Linked DNA regions of Homo sapiens: regions 1 and 3 are each linked to region 2. Evidence: promoter capture Hi-C in 16 types of primary human blood cells and fetal thymus (Javierre and others, 2016). All regions are on one chromosome and are shown on one strand. Each heading gives the region's core, a stretch centred on a gene start or on the middle of the fragment in contact. The rest is flanking DNA. Distances are from core to core; before and after follow the strand shown. Region 1 holds the start of SLFN12 (schlafen family member 12). Region 2 holds the start of PEX12 (peroxisomal biogenesis factor 12). Region 3 has its middle 38 kb from the start of SLFN11.

Region 1 (3,006 bases), core at 20-2,519, 150 kb after region 2:
CTGTGATGAGTCATCGTGGCCTGTGTGCATTTCAAAAGCTATGTACTGAGACACCAATTCTTAGACAAGTTAGCAGGAAAAACATGTATTACCATAATTATCATAATAAGGGGGCTAAAGGAAAGCAAAGTGGCAGGAGGACTGTATCCGGCCAGACTAGCCTTTGGAGCATCCCAATAAAGGAATCTCCCAAATGGCCCCAAGATGCTCCCTACACTGCCAGGGGTAGGTATTTGAATCTGTCTGTCCTGGAGCAATCCGCTCCTTGCACCTTTGTCCTCTCCTGTCCATCCACAGCTGCCCTGGCCTGGTTCCTGGGGGCAACCGTGCTTTTAAGCAAGGGGGCAGCAGTGCTGCTCTGGGAATGCGAGTACAGCTGGAAAGGTTGAGTCACCCCTTTAGGGGCATGGTAAGAATGCCTGGTATTTCTTCAATTTTGATGAACCAAAATAGTGACAATTGCCCAAAGGCGCAGAGTCGATAATAAAGAGTGCGGACACTTCCGGAGCGCCAGCTGCCCAATAGAAATGCAGGCCACGCTGGGGAAGTGTGGAGCCGCAGCCCAGGATGGGGAGGGCCGGAAAACAGAAAAGGATTCGCGTTCTTTTTACTCTGTGGAGAGTGAGCCCGCGGACTGTAGCCTGGGCCTCGCCAAGTTCCTTTGTTCTTTGTTTTCTTTAAATTACCTTTTTTCTTTTTGTCTTAAAAAATACACATGGGTGAAAAAGAAACGAGAGCTCCCTAGAGATCACTCAGAGCTGTTTTCGTGGGTTTTTAACTTCCAGTTGCTCAAGGGTCCACGCTGGCATCTGGGGTGTGCTCGCACCTGCGAAGAATCCAGCTTCTAGGGAGCACCGCGAGCTGGTAAGTTGGTCCTGCTCCATCGCTAAACCTTCCAGCCTTAGTTTTTCATTTCTGGGGAGTCTGCTGGCTCGGGAGGAGGTGGGGCACTGGTAACACAACCCCACCACTCCCGGGAAGATCCCCGCACCCCCATCCCGGTCTGCTTTCTCTCCCTTCTGAAGCAGGAGAATAAGGGTCTGGAGGAAAATCCCAACTTTCCACAAACTTCCTTTGTAGCCCCTCCTTTTCTACATGGCAGATGAAAAACTGAAAATACCTCTGATTGGTCCCCTCCCGCAACCAATCAGACTGGTCTCCAGGGCCAAGTCTTCATGTGCATAGGAATGTAACTTTGTAACTTCGCTTTCTGCGTCCAATCAGATGTTTTCATAGGGCATAACTTTGTAACTTCACTTCAGCCTCCCATTGATCGCTTTCTGCAACCATTCAGACTGATCTCGGGCTCCTATTTCATTTACATTGTGTGCACACCAAGTAACCAGTGGGAAAACTTTAGAGGGTACTTAAACCCCAGAAAATTCTGAAACCGGGCTCTTGAGCCGCTATCCTCGGGCCTGCTCCCACCCTGTGGAGTGCACTTTCGTTTTCAATAAATCTCTGCTTTTGTTGCTTCATTCTTTCCTTGCTTTGTTTGTGTGTTTGTCCAGTTCTTTGTTCAACACGCCAAGAACCTGGACACTCTTCACTGGTAACATATTTTGGCAAGCCAACCAGGAGGTAAGCCCAAAGTCTGGGATTTATTTTTCTCCTTTCCCTTTTCCTTTCTGCTCCATACAGGTAAATCTCTCTCTTTCTCTTTTCCTTTCCAACGTGGGATCCTTGGTGGGTAGCGCCTAGACACGGAGGCGACTGCAGGTTTCTGGCCGGGGGCTACTCTCCAGTGCTGCCTTGAAGGCCAAGGAGTGAATGGGGATAGTTGCCCTGCCCAGAAGCGGGAAGGGCTCTTTTCTGTCTTTTCTGGTTGTGGTCCCTGATCCCTATGTGTGACGCAGCTTCTCCAGGGCGAACTCACACGTGTTTCAGGTGACTTAAACCTTCTTTCCTTATGTTAAATTCTTCCCTTCCCCTACTCTACTGGCTAAGGTTAAAAGAAACCCACCTAGCCTCCATTTCATATCATTAAAGTTCATGACTATCACTCTAGTGGAATGGGAACCATGGGAAAGCATGGCCTTATCAAATTATAAGGATGCTAGAAGTCAAGGCCTTCATCCAGAGACAAAAGGAAAGCTCACAGTAGGCCATCCCCTCTGGAGGGAAAACATGTAAAGTGGCACTGGTGACCACCTAAGGTCAGAGACGTCTGACGCTCTAAGATTGGACCCTAAAGGGGGATGCTCTGGAGGATCCTTTGGACCTCAGCCTCTCCAAGGGGGTTCCTTTGGTAGAGGTTCTTAGGCCTAGTACTAAGCCCTCCTTAGAATTTTCTCTTCCGGTTGCAGTAGTGTTTGGCCTCAATATTGTTTGGAATCTGGAGTTTGCTGTTGAATGGTAAAGTGGGATGGAGTTGCATGTATGCAGGCTCTTGTGCTGCTGTTCTAAGCAGGGTTGTGTCGGGTTAAAGTGTGATGTTCTCCTTTGGTGCTGTTTGGCCTCAGCGTTCTTTGAAGTGCGAGGAAGTTTGACCTTTAAAAATCAAACTGCCATGGAAACCGCTGACTTATAAATTGCTAAAGTTGTTTATAACCAATGTTTGGTTTCTCAAATCCATATTCCTGGGAAGACAATCAAAGCTTCAGGTACATTTGGCTACCCGATGGGCCATTTAAACATTTACAAAGGGATTTTATTCAATGTCACTTTCAATGCATGTTTTCTTGTTGTATAAAAGCTTTTCCCATGATTATGCTACAGTGTATTTTCACCAGGTAAAGAAAGCTTTTTATGGTTCACTGAGAACAATCAACCCCTTCACAACCTAGAACCCATAGGATAGATGTTCTCAGAACATCTACTGTAAAGGCCATAGTTACACAACAGACTTTAAATTCTTTTGTGAAAGTTATGATAGAATTGGCTGAACAGAGAAGTATCTGTGCAGCTGCTGGCACTTAGAGTCTATGGAGAAATACATTAAATGAAGATTAAGAGATTCAGTTGTAGGGGATTAATGAGGAGATTGTTTACTTAAGTTGGTAGATT
Region 2 (2,988 bases), core at 489-2,988:
CCCGCCTCGGCCTCCCAAAGTGCTGGGATTATAGGCGTTCTTATGCCATACGTTTAGTTAACTTTTGGAGTACTTCCATGGGACTATCAATCAAGACATCCTGCCTTCCCCTGGCTAAGAGTGAAAGACAGGGTGGAGAGGGAACTTGAACCAAGAGAGGTCAGTCAAAATTTGTATCACGAGCAGAGTCACAAACAGAAATTGGTGGAAGCTCGTTCACTGCAACAACGTTGCCTGGATAAGAACTTCTAATTCCTGTTAGGCAGTCCCAATAGTATTGTTAAGTTCCTGTTCTTTCAGGGCTGGCTTTACTTATTTTGTGAGCTACTCCATACACTTCTAATAAATTCCGTTTTAGTTTAAATTAGCCTGTTTGTTTCTGTTGCTTGTAACCAAAGATCCCTAAGTGACAAAAATGTTTAATTTCCTGCTTGATTTAGTTGATGCTACCTCTCAACTTTGTATTTTTGCTATTCACTTAAGAAAAGCTTGTACATAACAGTTACTATTAAACAAGCACCTAATATGTATCCAGGTGCTTCATATGGATAAACTATGTCTAGTCTTAAAACTCTGTAAGGTAAAAATCATATATCAATATAATGTCTTTTGGTAGAGTAAAAAACACTTTTTATAACTATAATTAAGGACAATTTGTAAGGTTTTCTCTCCTATTGGAATAACTAAATCCAAACCTTGTTTTTGAGGGTTCTCATTATGCAAACCAATTATTTTTATAACATAAGGGCCTCTAGGGCAGTAAACAATACCTTCTATTCCCAGCTATTTAGCCCAGAGGTGGCACTTCCCAGAGGAAGGGAGGAGAGGTGGAACTCTCATCCAAATTCAATAAGGCTGTGTCAGCCAACTTCAGCGAGACAAAGCTGTACATAACATAAAAGCACTTTACAAACCTTAAGGTAAATCACATTCATTTTGGTATAAAAACGGCATGAAAGGAAACTTTCTGTCAAGTGTCCCCAGTGCATGCTAGTTACAATTCATAAAGCTCCCTCTGCGTTAGTACTGTATTCATATCGCTGGTGGTGACATATACAACTGTGTTCAAGGATGGAGACCATTTTCATCCAGTATAGCAAGTGCATGCAGTTATGCTTGAATATAGCCAAAACCTGGAAGACGTTAAACTACCAGCTTGGATGAAAATTAACCGTCTCAAGTACTGAGGAACAAGCATGAACCTTTCTCAATCCAATCATCTTTCCTTATAATTGGCGGCAATAAATCTAAGGCTCCTATCTCCTGCTATGTCGCTTTAAATCATTTCTGGAAGGCTAAGACATATAAATTAACCACCATCCCTGCCGCACGCGTACAGCAAAGTCCTTTCCACCTCCAGATTCCCTTCCTCCCACCGCCCCTAGCTTCATCGCCTGCAGGAACACAGGGCTCAGCAACGGGCCCGAGCTCTGGCTCCCGGCGCCAGACGTCTGCGCGGTGCCCCAAACAGCTTGTCAAAAAGACCTCGCAGAGAGAGGTTCAGAGCTGTAGCTTTCCAGCGAGGCTACCATGCAGACCCAGCTACGAAAAGTAAACCAAACTAGCCAAAACCAGCCCACAAGGGCCCTCTTCTGTTTCAGCGGGGCGGGAGCGGAAGCTCAGGTGGGTCATAGAGTTCTCTAGTTCTGGTTTCCGGACCGCATTCGGAACTAGAGCGCCTCTCTTCCGCCAGGCATCCCAGAGGTCCTGGTGGTTTCATTTCCGGGTGCGGCTTCTGTCATAAAGCGGAGACCTCCCTTCAAACGTGGCGTCGTGGGTTGTTTGCGCCTCGCCTGGGGTCAGCGAGCAAGGACGGGCGCGGGCGGGGATACTCAAAGCCAACAGCTGGAGTCAGCCCTTGTGTCCCGGGCTCACAGTGGCACGACTGAATCCTCAGAGTCGGCTGGCTTTTGAGCTCTCACGATTGGGGAGGAGGGGGCGTTTCTGGTTCGCAGCTCCAGAGGATTGCGTTCCTTCCCCCATACCTGTCCCCCACAGTCACGCTCTGCCCTGACGTGCAGCATTTGACAAGTTACCCCCTCGCCACATACTACTTCCACCCACGTCCGAGTTAACTTTGTTCTTAACCTTCTTGAGACTACCCTCGGCCTCCAGGTCTTTTTTTCCCAGTTCATTTTTGCCCATAAGATTGAGTTTCGAGTTTCAGATATCATGCAGAAAGTTTACCTTTAAGACTGAGCACCCATCTGATACTCTTCCTCCCGAAAAAGTTCATGCTCACGAGAGAGTTTGTGGGAAAAGTGAAAGCCAGTACACGCAGGAAACTATGGCTGAGCACGGGGCTCACTTCACAGCTGCTTCTGTGGCCGATGACCAGCCATCCATCTTTGAGGTGGTAGCACAGGACAGTTTAATGACAGCAGTGAGACCCGCTCTTCAGCATGTGGTCAAGGTAAGGTATTAATTCTTGGAAAGGTTTTAGGGACAACTGGGTAAAAAACAAACGAATAATTTGTGCTTATTTGGTAGCCTAGCGTTTGAAATAGCCAATTTGCAAATAACTTGTATCCCATGACTTAAGAGTTACTGAGTCTCTGTTATGTGTAGAGACCTGTACTGAATACCCAGCATTTCAGGGTCCAACAGTGACTTATTTAAAACAAATTGTGTAGACTTTAGAGGAAAAGGGGGAATGTAAATAGGTGTAGAACTTGTGTAATGGAATGAATTTCACTTATTGCTTTATTTTGCTTTAGGTTCTTGCAGAATCAAATCCCACCCACTATGGCTTCTTGTGGAGGTGGTTTGATGAAATCTTTACTCTGCTAGATCTTCTGCTCCAGCAACATTATCTGTCTAGAACCAGTGCCTCATTTTCTGAAAACTTTTACGGCTTAAAGAGAATTGTAATGGGGGACACTCACAAGTCTCAGAGATTGGCTAGTGCTGGTCTCCCAAAGCAGCAGCTTTGGAAATCTATTATGTTCCTGGTTCTTCTTCCCTATCTGAAAGTGAAGCTGGAGAAGC
Region 3 (3,016 bases), core at 68-2,567, 240 kb after region 2:
TGGACACAAGGGGCAATGGAGGGAGGGTCAAGATATTTGTTTAATTTATTCTACTTTATAGCAGAAAAATTTATTTATTTGAAATTGGAATGTATCTAAATTCTCCAGGTATCAGTGTCACTGAGATTTTTAGTACCCACTAATATTGTCTGAGCTCTTATTATGTGTAAATAGACAAAGGTTTTTGTTTTTTAAACCTAGCTTCTTTCTATTGAGATTTCTGAGAATTCCAGGAATGCTTCCATGTTCCACAGATCTGTCCTGGTAGTCTCCGGCCACTTCTTGCAATAAAATGCTGTACCAAGGCCTCTGATAGTTTCTAGTTGGCTTGACATAATGGCTTTTCTAAGCTTCTGTTCCTCTATGCTCCTCTGTATCCCAAGCATGGAAAGAAGTCATATCTTTTGTTTCACACATTAGCAGTCAACACTTGGCCCTACTTTCAACAAGGCTAAGTAAAACTTTGAGCATAGCAAAAGGCAAATACTTAAATTATAATATTAGCAGGAGGAGGCTGAGGTGGGAGGATCATATGAGGCCAGCCTGGGCAACATAGATACCCCCTCTCCAGAAGACAACAACGAAAAATTATCTGGGTGTGGTGGTGTGCTCTTGCAGTCCTAGATACTCCAGTGGCTGAGGCAAGAGGATCGCTTGATTCCAGGAGTTCAAGGTTGTAGTGAGCAATAATCATGTCACTGCATCCTAGCCTGGGCAATAGAGTAAGACCCTATCTCTAACAAAATAATAATAAAACAATCAAAAGTTTAAAATTAGGTATTGGATGTCAGTGTGCCCAGAGTCCTTTGACCACAGATGATCCTGATGGCCTTCTCTCGCCTTGTCCCTGTGCCTCCTTCTACCATTTTTCTTCCTGAGATATTCGAAAATAAGTAGCAGACAGGTTCCCATTTACCTCTAAATACTTCAGTGGGTATTTCCTAAAAGGACATTTATAGTACCATCATCAAAATCAGTAAATTAACATTGATACTATTATCTAATCTACAGACTTTATTGAATTTTATCAGTTGTGCCACAAATGTCTTATGGCAAATGAGAAATAATTCTGGTCTAGGATTTGATCTAAGATCGTGCATTGTATTGAGCTTTCATTTCTTTTAAGTCTTATTTAATCTGGAAATGTTAATCAGTGTTTGTCATATCTTTGACACTATTGAAGAGGATTGGCCTATTATTTTGCAGAGTATCTATGATTTTGGGTCATTCCATGTGTTCTCATGATTAGATGCAGGTTATGCATTTTTGGCATGAATACCATAGAAGGGATGTTATGGTTCTCAGTTCATGGTATTAGAAGGCACTTGATAGTGATTAGTTCCATTCCTGATGATGTTAACTCTGATCATTTGGATAAAGTGACATCTGCCAGGTTTCCCCACTGTGCAGTTACAATTTGCTTTTTGCGATTAATAAATTCCTTTTTTATTCTCATTTAAGAATGAGTTTCTTTAACACCTTGAAAAAATCACACTGGCTCACCAGCAATGGACCCAAACCAAGAAGTAATACCTGATGTATCTGAAAAAGAATTCAGGAGGTTAGTTATTAAGCTAATCAGGGAGGCATCAGAAAAAGGCAAAGCCCAATGCAAGGAAATCCAGAAAATAATACAAGAAGCGAAGGGAGAAATATTTAAGGAAATAACGTAAATAAAAAACAATAAAAACTTCAGGAAACAATGTTCCTGAAACACTTCTAGAAATGCAAAATGCTTTGGAAACTCTCAACAATAGAATTGAACAAGCGGAAGAAAGAAATTCAGAGCTTGAATACAAGGTCTTTGAATTAACCCAATCCAACAAAGACAAAAAAAGAAAATATGAACAAAGCCTCCAAGAAGTCTAGGATTATGTTAAGTGACCAAACCTAAGAAAAATTGGTGTTCCTGAGGAAAAAGAGAAATCTGAAAGTTTAGAAAACATATTTGGGGGAATAATCAAGAAAAACTTCCTGACCATGCTAGAGACCTAGACATCCAAATACAAGAAGCACAAAGAACACCTGGGAAATTCATCACAGAAAGATCATTGCCTAGGGACACTGTCATCAGGTTATTGTTATCTAAAGTTAAGACTAAGGAAAGAAACTTAAGAACTGTGAGGCAAAAGCACCAGGTAACTATAAAGGAAAACCTATCAGATTAACAGCAAATTTCTCAGCAGAAACTCTACAAGCTAGAAGGGATTGGGGCCCTATCTTCAACTTCCTTGAACAAAACAATTATTACCCAAGAATTTTGTATCCAGTGAAACTAAGCTTCATCAATGAAGGAAAGACAGTCTTTTTCAGACCAATGCTGAGAGAATTCACCACTACCAAGCCACCACCACAAGAACTGCAAAAAAAGAGCTTTAAATCTTGAAACAAATCCTAGAAACACATCAAAAGAGAACCTCTTTAAAGTATAAATCTCACAGGACCTATAAAACAATCAATTTAAAAAGCAAAAAACAAAAAACAAAGGTATACAGGCAACAAATAGCACGATGAATGGAATGATACCTCACATCTCCATGCTAACATTGAATGTAAATAGCCTAAATGCTCCCCTTAAAAGATACAGAACTGAAGGATAGATAAGAACTCACCAACCAACCATCTGCTGCCTTTGGGAGACTCACCTAGCACATAAGGACTCACAAAAACTTAAGGTAAAAAGATGGAAAAAGACATTTCACATGAACGGACACCAAAAGTGAGCAGGAATAGCTATTCTTATATCAGACAAAACAAACTTTAAAGCAACAGCAGTTAAAAAAGACAAACATGGGGGTGGCTGGCAAGATGGCCGAACAGGAACAGCTCTGGTCTGCAGCTCCCAGGGAGTTCAATGCAGAAGGCGGGTGTTTTCTGCATTTCCAAAGGATGTACCTGGCTCATCTCACTGGGACTGGTTAGACAATGTGTGCAGCCCATGGAGGGCAAGCAGAAGCAGGGTGGGGTGTTGCCTCACCGGGGAAGTACAAGGGGTTGAGGAACTCCCTCCCCTAGC

What was found. The method cuts DNA at HindIII sites, captures the fragments that hold promoters and counts their contacts. A CHiCAGO score of 5 or more calls a contact.
Region 1: the fragment with the promoter of SLFN12 here is called in contact with the fragment with the promoter of PEX12 in region 2 in 17 of 17 cell types (total B cells, neutrophils, monocytes and 14 more); the score reaches 14.9 in total B cells.
Region 3: a fragment that was not itself captured here is called in contact with the fragment with the promoter of PEX12 in region 2 in 3 of 17 cell types (activated CD4 T cells, neutrophils and total CD8 T cells); the score reaches 6.8 in activated CD4 T cells.

Annotation. Positions count from the first base shown.
Region 1 is chr17:35,430,763-35,433,768 of GRCh38, reverse strand. It overlaps SLFN12 (schlafen family member 12), which reads left to right and starts at 1,269. Exons shown (of 4, transcript NM_018042.5): 1 at 1,269-1,581. RefSeq lists enhancers at 1-97, 918-1,137, 66-1,265, 634-1,359. The HindIII fragment of the contact is 4,520 bases long and covers 1-2,599 here.
Region 2 is chr17:35,577,321-35,580,308 of GRCh38, reverse strand. PEX12 (peroxisomal biogenesis factor 12) reads left to right here and starts at 1,738. Exons shown (of 3, transcript NM_000286.3): 1 at 1,738-2,413; 2 at 2,718-2,988. The coding sequence starts at 2,288. RefSeq lists an enhancer at 1,659-2,474. The HindIII fragment of the contact is 3,440 bases long and covers 491-2,988 here.
Region 3 is chr17:35,334,168-35,337,183 of GRCh38, reverse strand. No RefSeq gene overlaps it. Among named protein-coding and RNA genes, the nearest start is that of SLFN11, 38 kb to the left of the region's middle. RefSeq lists an enhancer at 2,723-3,016. The HindIII fragment of the contact is 1,930 bases long and covers 353-2,282 here.